2 separate regions of the Homo sapiens genome follow, and region 1 is linked to region 2. Evidence: promoter capture Hi-C in human tissues and cell types (Jung and others, 2019). All regions are on one chromosome and are shown on one strand. Each heading gives the region's core, a stretch centred on a gene start or on the middle of the fragment in contact. The rest is flanking DNA. Distances are from core to core; before and after follow the strand shown.

Region 1 (4,444 bases), core at 1,567-4,066, 340 kb after region 2:
AGAGGCACCCCGAGCCTGGTGGTGCACCAGGTGGAAGCTGGCGAAACCACAGGGAATCAGGATGGGGTAGGCGACCAGGCATCTACACATCTCACCAGCTCCAACTCCTGGAGACAGACACTGCCCCCAGCTGTAAGCCTGGTGAAGGCAGGAACGCTGACTCAGTCAATCAGCACATCCTGCTCTCTGGGTCCTGGGGTCCAGCACACCGCATACCAGAAGTATGTGTGATATTGACACCAACTCAAAAGCCATCTAGCCAGATAAACTGAACTAGCGTGAGGTGGGAGCTGGAATGTGGCAGTTCCAGAGACCCTGGGGTGAGCTGGGATGGGGGGTGAGCTGGGGTGGAGGGTGAGCTGGAGTCGGGGGCTGAGGGCAGGTGGACCCCGCAGGACCATCACTCTCAGGATGGTGGTGCTAGAAAGGCCTTCAGTATCCGAGGTAGTGCTGGGCCCAATCCCTTTTCTTTCCAAGAGGACCAGGAACTTGTGTATGATCACAGTGAGTCATATCACAACCAGGACAACAGTGGCCCTTCCCACCACACAACCTCATTTCCTGGGTCCCCTGCTCCCTGTGCCAGAGTAGTGGTGCACTTCAGAGGCCCTGCCACCTAGGAGTGAACTCCCCCAACCACCCCTCCCCATTGGAGGCAAGGTAAGGGTCGGGGGGCAGACAGCAATTTACCCAAGACACCCCTCCCTCTGGACCTATGTGCAGGGTCTGCCTCTGAGTCTTCAGACCTCACTGCACCCCTGGTTCCATGCTGGGCCCTGGGGTATTCATATTCTCTTGTGTAGAAAGTGATCCTCACACCCCTTTTTCAAAATGTTATCTGGGCCCTTAGTGAACGAATGTGTGCATGTGCGAGGGTACATGTGTGCATCTGTGTGTGTCCCACACACAACCCAGATGGGGGCTGACGCACACCAGTGATGAATAACTCGCTTTGGCCACACGGATGCTGCTGGGGTGGGTGGGGGCAGGCCTGTGTTGAGCAGGATGTGGGGCAACAGGGGTTGTGTGGCCTTGGCAATAGGCCACCAGAGCTCTGCTTTTAGGAGAAAATGGGGTGTTGGTAGACAACACCCCTCCAGGCTGGAGGGCAAAGGAGGTGTTCTGGGGTGAGCTGTGCTTCTCCCCAGGCGGGGCCTTATCCCAAAGCCAGCTCCTTCACCAGGCCAAGCCGGCCACTTGCCCAGAGCTCCTCCCATGATCTCAGCCCCCCTGGGGCAGGGCTGGGACAATGGGTGGGCCGCCTGCCTGCTGAGCCTGTGCCGGCCTCTCCTGTGACTGACCTGCAGGACACGAGAGCTTGTCTCTCGCGTCCATCCCTCCAGGCCTGGCTGCTGGCCAGTGCTGCAGTACCATGCCATGGATGCCCAGCCATCTCATCCTCTCCTCCAGAAGCCCCCAGGTCAGAGTCCCCACCTGGCTGCCCTCCCAGTGTGCGGGTGAGGCCAGCCCAAGCGGGGTCCCTCAGACCTGCCCTCCTCTTTGCCTCAGTTTCCTCAAGAAGAACCTGTTCCCATCTGCCAGCAGGGAGAGGAGGCCTAGGAACCAGATGGGCACCTTCCCTAGAAGAAGAGTATTACGGGGGGGTTAAAGGATTCCAGGATGGGGCTGTGAGGAACCCCTCGGTTTCCTTTTTCCACCACCCTGGGCCGCCAGCCCCAGAGCAGGTGGTCCATCCCCTCCCCCAGCTCAGCGGGAGACAACAGCTGGGGGGCGGGGTGAGGGGCGGCCCAGCTCCTCCCCCATCAGGGACCGAGTGCCCCTTGCTGGGGGCCGGTGGATCTGTTCACCCCTTCAGCCGTCTTTGGGGGCTCCCTCCACACTTGTTCTCCAGAGGGCTTCCTCCCAGGGATCTCAGCTGGCCCCTTAGGCAGCTCGGTGCCCCCCAGCCCAGCTGCCTAGTCCCCGCAGTCCCCTTCAGGTAGGGGAGGAGAGCTCACCCCTGCCTCCTCCGCGACCCGCGGCGGTAAGGGAGTCACTTCGCGGTCGCCATGTGGCAGCAAACATCCTTCCACCTCACTCCAGCCCAGGTTTCGGGGGGAGGGCGGCCCACTCCGAGAGGCCCCCCGGTGGGCGGGGCGCCCGGCCCCCAGCCCGCTCCGCTCCTCCCCCGCCCTCGCTTTCCTTTGTGCTGTGGCCGGGCCGGGCTGAGCCGGGCAGGCTGCGCTGGCTCCGCTAGCTCGGTCCCCGCCCCGTCCCCGCCCGGACCTCGCCCGCTCGAAGGTGGCGAAGGTGCCCTTGGCCGCCCCGTGCACACCTGTCCCCCGGGCCCGGGGGGTAGGGTGGGGGATGGGCTCCCGCAGGGCCACGCGGCCCCGGGCCCCACATCGGGACCCCGCGCCTCCGGGCCGCGTCCGGCCGCCGCTCCCACCGCGCGCCTTGGGCCGCCTCCGGGCGCTCGGGGCCCGGCAGTGCCCCGCCTGGCCCGCCGGCCCCTCCCCCGGCGCGCACAAAGGCAGCCCCTCCCGGCCCTCCCGGCCCGCTGCACCATTTCGGGGTCCCCCTCCCTTCCCGGCGGCGGGGCGGCGGGGCGGGAGAGAAACAAAGGCGCGGCGGCGGCGCGGGGACAAAGGGGCCGGGGGCGGGGGCGGGGGGCTCACCAGTCGGCCGCGCTCTCCTCTCGGATCACCTCCTCGTAAGCCGCCAGCAGCTCCAGGCGGTGGCCGCTGAAGCTGACGCCGGCCATGCTTCGGGCCGGACCGGGCCGAACGGACAGACGCGCGGACGGACGGGCGGACGGAGGAGGAGGGAGGGAAAGAGGGAGTCGCCGCCGCCGCCTCGGAGCCTCTGCAGCGTCGCGAGCCGAGCGAGCCAGCGGCCGGGGGAGGGGAGCCGGCCGGCGGGGGGCGGGGGGCGCTGGCTCCGCCCGGCTCGCTCCCTCCGCTCGCTCGGTCCTAGCGCCGCCCCGGCCCGGCCCAGGGGGAGGCCCGCCCCCCCTTCCCGGCCTGCCCCGGGCGCCCCTCACCCACCGCCCCTGCGCGCCGCTCCAGGGCCAGCCCCACCCACGTCCCGAACCCTCACCTGCCCCGTCCGTAACCTCGGCGCTAGCCCTCCTTCCAGCCCCGAACCCAGTCCCGTCCCCACCTCCCCCCGCCCACCCCCCGTCCCAATCCGGTTCCGCCCCACCCATTGCTTCATTGATCTCCATTCCTGGTGCGTCCCACCTCATGTTAAACCCATTTTCATCCCAACCCAGCTCACACAACACCCCACCCCTGGCCCGTCTCCTTTCCCTGAGAGGTCCTTGCCTAGTCTATCCCATCATATCCACTGTCATCTGCATCCCACCCTCAAATCCACCCCAGTTGCTTTCCCATCCCAGCTTCAGCCCCATGCTTAGCACGTGTCCCCCCCAACATGTGTCACGGCACATCTTCAGTCCAACCCATCCCAGTCTCATCCTGATCCCAGTTCCCAATTCCCAACCACAGCCCCCCATCTCGGCTCCATGACCACTTATTCCAGGCCATTCTCAGCCCCTACCCAGCTCATTATCCCTCCATTCCAGGCCTCTCCTCCCCTCCACGCCTGTGCCCTCTCAGATGGGGCCAGCTAGGAGATCCTTTGCATTCTCTCTCAAGCCTCACGCCTCCCAGAGGAGTCCCAAGTAGAGTTCCGGAAGCAGCATCTAACCCCAGACTCCCACGGCAGGGCTCCTCCAAGGACGCTCAGGGCCAGCCTCTTGGCACCTTTATCTCCTAAAGCTCTAAGCACAGAACGGGAGGGGGCCTCAGAAAAGTACCCCCTGCAAGGGAGTGGACACCATGCCAGGGCCTTCCAGAACTCCGTTCCTTGCTAGGTTGGGACCCTGAAACCGTCCACAGCGCTTAGAAGCCTTTTCCACCACTACAAAGCCTCCAACCTCGACCTCCCTGAGCAAACTTCACCTGGTCCCAACCGCACCGCGGAGGAGGAGGTGGTTCTAGCCAGGCCTCCGAGTTCTGCGTTGGGTAATTGGCTATGCCAAGAGAAGGAGAGCAGGGCTGCCTATGTGGCAGTGTTCCTGGCGCTTTGGAGTTGGGAGAACCCTCTTAAAACTCAAAATACTCACAGGCCCCTGCCTTGGGAAGTCAGTGCCCACTATGTCTAGGGACCACAGGCCATGGCAATTTCTCCATGGCCACCACTAGAGTGAGGCACCCAGGCAGGGACACAGCCAGGCCCTGTGCCCTAGACCAACTGGCCAGTAGGTGTGGTTGGCCTGCCATGGGGATCCCTAAGGGAGTGGGTGACACATGGTGGGGAAGGGAAGTGGGGAGAGCCATGGAGGGACAGAGCTTCAGCCATCCCCCACCCTTAGGCATGAAGAGCCTGATTCTGGTGAGGAGGGAGACCCTGCAGCCGGGGAGGGGCAGCAGATGGCTGGCCATGAGCATCTGTGGCCTCAGCCTCTTCCAGCTTCCTTTGATTTGTCCTAGCTCACAGC
Region 2 (4,684 bases), core at 685-3,184:
TTTCTGGAGGAGGCGGAATTTTTATGGCGGCCGGATCCGGCTTTCTCTGAACAGCGAGAAGGCGCTTAGCGCCCTAGGGACCAGGTAACTCCTGAGGTGAGCTTCTTGGTGGGGATCAAGCCCAGGGGGCGACGGAGTCCGGGCTGGGGGAAGGGCCCGAGGGGCTGGAGTCGCAAGTTCAGGCCCAGCTTGGGCTCCCTGTCCCGCCCTTCCGCTGTCTTGGGGGATTGGACGCCACGCGGTCGTGCTAGATTCGGTGCTGCGGGCCCGGTGCAGGATGCAGGCCGTGAGGCCCCAGGCCGAGGGCTGCGCCAGCGGGCTTGTCCCGGCCAGCCGGGCGGTCCCGTGTCCCGGCGCAGCTCCGCTGGGGTCCAGATGCCCGGCCCTCAGGGGCGAGGCGCGCACTCCCCGGGGAACCGGGCTGCGGAGCAGGCGGCCCGCTCTGGGCGGCGGTGGCACGAGAGGGCCATCTGCCTGGGTGCCGAGAACTGCAGCGTCCGCGGTGCGAGGCGCGGCCCGTCCCGTCCCGGCCCCCAGCCCGGCGCGCACGCACATACCCACGCCGGCCGGCGCCCGCTGCCCGAGCCCCCGTGCCAGGCCCAGACCTTGACTAGGCGCGGGAGGCGGTGCAGGGACTAGAGGACCCCCTCCCCCGGCGTTCCCCTCGCCCCGCCCGAGGCTGCGAGGACCCCTGGGCTCGGGGGTGGTGAGGGAGCTTCGTCCCGGCTGGGCCCGGGCTGGGGACTCGGCCTCCCTGGGCGGGGGCCGCACGGCTGCAGGCCGAGGTGCGGACGCGCTGTCAGGCTGCAGCCCGGCTCGGTGCCGGGGGTGGGCTCAGCGCTGGGGTCGCCTGGCTTCGTTCCCCCGCGGAGGCCACGGCCGGGCGAGCAGTGCCGGGGCGGGTAACCCGACCCGGCTCCCCAGAGCCGCTCACCCCGCACGGCCCGGCAAGGGGAGGGAGAGGGATGGGGGGAGGGGGAAGGGAAGGGGTGGTGGGTGAGGGGCTGTGGGCACCGCAGGGCCGAGTCCCCGGCCCGTCTGCGCTGCTGTAGGGCGGCTGCCCGCGGCACCCGGGACGATCCAGCCTCTGCCTCGCGGGCGTCGAGCCTGAGACAGGAGGGAGCCCTGGGGCTGCACAGGCTTGGCTCAGGGAGGCAGACCCGAGCTGCTGCCTCCATTTTGTTTCCTGCTCAGCTTGGTCTGTGGTGGTGGTGGTGGTGGTGGTGTGGGTTTGGGGTGCGGCCGGGTAGGGGGTTCGCCTGCGGCCGCGTCTGCTCGGGGCCTGAGGCCTCGAAGACCCCAGCCCAAGCCCCCAGGTGAGCCCTGCGGCAGGAGGGGGGTTGCCTTGGCCTCGGGCCGAACCCAGCGGGCTGAGGGCAGGTGCCCAGTGGATGGGGAGCCTGGGCTGTAACCTAAGATGGAGGCCGGGACTGACGCGGGCCCGAGCAGGGCTGGCGGGACGATCGGACAGGCCTCAGCCGCGCCAGGTGCCGCCTGGGTTGGGGTTCGAGACGCGTAGGGTGCGGGAGCCGTGTGCGGCCCGAGGCCAGCGCCGTGCCCCGAGGTAGGTGAGGGGATCGGAATGCCACCCACGACGCCCGCAGGCCCCGACACTCCAAGGAGGCGCGCGAGGCCCCTGGGGAGCCCGCCTCAGGCCCCGCCCGGGCAGCCGGGCCGGCCCGTAGGCCCCGGCCGCGAGCGGGCGCGCAGGGGGAGGGGAGGGGGCGGCAGCGGCAGCTCCGCTGATTGGGCGGCGCTCTCACAAGCCCGACTTCACCCGCCCTGAACCCCGAAGAGTGAGAGAAGGGAACGCGCGCGCTCGGTGGGGGAAGGGGTGCGCGCGCACTCGGGGCCCAGCCGCACGCGGGCCGGCGCGAGGCGCTCGGTCGCACGCGCGGCCGCGGGGGCGCGCGCGGTGGGGGTGTGAGGAGGAGGAGGCGGCGGCGGAATAGGCCGGGGCAGGTCGCGCTCGCTGCCTTCTCCCCTGAAGAGAGACGCGGGGGGAGGGGGGTGCGGCGAGCGGCCCCGCTCTCTCCCCACCGCTCCGCTCGCACCCCAGTGTAATGAGGGTCACCCCCTCCCCCCAGCTGGCCCGGGAGGGGGCGCGGGGCACGGTAACTAGTGCGCTGGGGTGGGCGGCGGGCAGGCGCGAGGAGAAGGGAGGGAGGAGGGTGGCCGGGCGGGGAAGATGGTGGTGGCCGTAAGGTGAGGGGCTCGGGGGAGGGCCAGGCGCGATGCGGGGTTGGTGGCCGGCGGCGCTGCAGCCGCCGGCCTCCTCCCCCTCCCCCTCCTCCATCACTACCAGCCGGGCTCAGGCCTAGCTGGCCGGGCTGCCGCGAACTTCCTCCCGGCGCGGCCCGTGCCCCGCCGGCCGCCTGCGAACACCTCGGCCTCCGCCTCCCCTCAGGTAGCAGGCTGCGGGGCGCGGGGCCGGCTGCCCTCCCGCAGCAAACTTTGCTTGCTGCTGAATATTGATGAGAGCGATCGGCTCGGCTGGGAGGTGCTGCCGCGGCTGCGGGAAGGAGCGCGGCCCGGGCAGGCGGCGGCGGCGTCGGCAGCAGCCATGTTTTTCGAGCTGTAGCAGCTGCTGCTACCCTGACTGGGCTTCGCTGGCCGCCTCGGTTTCTCCCTCTGCCGGGTCCAGGCCTCTTCGCCCTGCAGCTGCGGATCCAGCAGGCCTGCATTCAGGAAGGCGAGCTCTGGGGTGCAGCCGCCTCGGCCGGCTCGCCTGCGGCCTGCGCACCGCCGCTGCAAAGGCTCCGGCGCTGGCTGGGCGCAGGGTGCAGCGCTATTGTGACCGCTGCGCCCTAGCGAGCCAGGAAGGGGGGGGTACCTTTTTGTGCAGGGTCCAGGAGCCCCCCTCGGACCCCGCAGCCTTTTGCTTTTGAGAGATCCAGCTGCTCGACCCCTGGCGAGGGAGGGGGAGGACTAGTCCTGTTTGAGAATTGGGAATTTTGACGGGCAGAGGGGTTTTAATTTTAGTTCATCCCAAGTGTCCACCAGTCTACAGAGGAGGAAAAAGAGACGGGCTGTTTCTATGTAGCAGGATCGGCCCAGCTTCGGGAAAATGGAGTTTTCAGAGGCTCATCGAGGCCATTTTTTCATCTCCAGTCGGGGGAACTTTTTCTGCCCATGGAAGTGCAGCAGAAAGGCATAGAGGCCACTAGGCCTTGAAGTGGCTGCCATTTTAAAGAGTCGAGTCAGATGGCCTATTAACTCAGATTAATTGCTGTGCTTTTGGATTCCAGGTTGATGCCGGCCCAGGATGGATCAGACCTGTGAACTACCCAGAAGAAATTGTCTGCTGCCCTTTTCCAATCCAGTGAATTTAGATGCCCCTGAAGACAAGGACAGCCCTTTCGGTAATGGTCAATCCAATTTTTCTGAGCCACTTAATGGGTGTACTATGCAGTTATCGACTGTCAGTGGAACATCCCAAAATGCTTATGGACAAGATTCTCCATCTTGTTACATTCCACTGCGGAGACTACAGGATTTGGCCTCCATGATCAATGTAGAGTATTTAAATGGGTCTGCTGATGGATCAGAATCCTTTCAAGACCCTGAAAAAAGTGATTCAAGAGCTCAGACGCCAATTGTTTGCACTTCCTTGAGTCCTGGTGGTCCTACAGCACTTGCTATGAAACAGGAACCCTCTTGTAATAACTCCCCTGAACTCCAGGTAAAAGTAACAAAGACTATCAAGAATGGCTTTCTGCACTTTGAGAATTTTACTTGTGTGGACGATGCAGATGTAGATTCTGAAATGGACCCAGAACAGCCAGTCACAGAGGATGAGAGTATAGAGGAGATCTTTGAGGAAACTCAGACCAATGCCACCTGCAATTATGAGACTAAATCAGAGAATGGTGTAAAAGTGGCCATGGGAAGTGAACAAGACAGCACACCAGAGAGTAGACACGGTGCAGTCAAATCGCCATTCTTGCCATTAGCTCCTCAGACTGAAACACAGAAAAATAAGCAAAGAAATGAAGTGGACGGCAGCAATGAAAAAGCAGCCCTTCTCCCAGCCCCCTTTTCACTAGGAGACACAAACATTACAATAGAAGAGCAATTAAACTCAATAAATTTATCTTTTCAGGATGATCCAGATTCCAGTACCAGTACATTAGGAAACATGCTAGAATTACCTGGAACTTCATCATCATCTACTTCACAGGAATTGCCATTTGTAAGCAGTTTTTGGTACAACTTAAATATATACATATATGTATATATACAGGCCACTTAAAGGGAAACTTGTAACAAATTTGTTTTTGGTTGCTTATCAGTTCACAGCTGAAATCCTATTGCTAATCATAAGCTTTGGGCAAAATTTTACTTTGATTTTTAAATTTATCTCTGTTGTATGAATTTGGTTGTTTTAAGCTTTTTCCAAATAACTCTTCATTGAGAGTAGGCTAATGCTTTTAAAGGCATTTGATTGAGTTCAGGTTTAATTTCTCAAGTTGGAGGTATACATATATGATTAAAAAAAAAAAAAAAAGATGGGTTTTGGCCTGCCAGCACCATGAGTGCAGGTGAACCAATTTAGTACTTGGAGTCCTGTTGCTATATGTGGCAGATTATTTTTTTACTTGATGACTTGACTCTTACTTCAGGTTGAAGGGCATTTTGAACACAGATTAAAGTGGCTAAGATGAAGTTTTCTTGGACATTGTCA

The links. Contacts are between HindIII fragments. The study calls those that stand out against the background at their distance.
Region 1: the fragment with the promoter of DBN1 here is called in contact with the fragment with the promoter of NSD1 in region 2 in 3 of the 25 tissues and cell types used here (dorsolateral prefrontal cortex, heart left ventricle and lymphoblastoid cells).

The regions. Positions count from the first base shown.
Region 1 is chr5:177,470,818-177,475,261 of GRCh38, forward strand. DBN1 (drebrin 1) reads right to left here and starts at 2,817. Exons shown (of 15, transcript NM_001363541.2): 1 at 2,619-2,817. The coding sequence starts at 2,704. RefSeq lists enhancers at 1-104, 1,675-2,178, 2,179-2,680 and silencers at 1,829-2,015, 1,935-2,304, 2,335-2,534, 2,615-2,994, 3,005-3,054. The HindIII fragment of the contact is 16,715 bases long and covers 1-4,444 here.
Region 2 is chr5:177,131,839-177,136,522 of GRCh38, forward strand. NSD1 (nuclear receptor binding SET domain protein 1) reads left to right here and starts at 1,935. Exons shown (of 23, transcript NM_022455.5): 1 at 1,935-2,114; 2 at 3,249-4,192. The coding sequence starts at 3,266. RefSeq lists enhancers at 926-1,477, 970-1,264, 1,478-2,031, 2,032-2,583, 2,584-3,137 and silencers at 1,301-1,970, 2,051-2,210, 2,271-2,570. The HindIII fragment of the contact is 15,853 bases long and covers 1-4,684 here.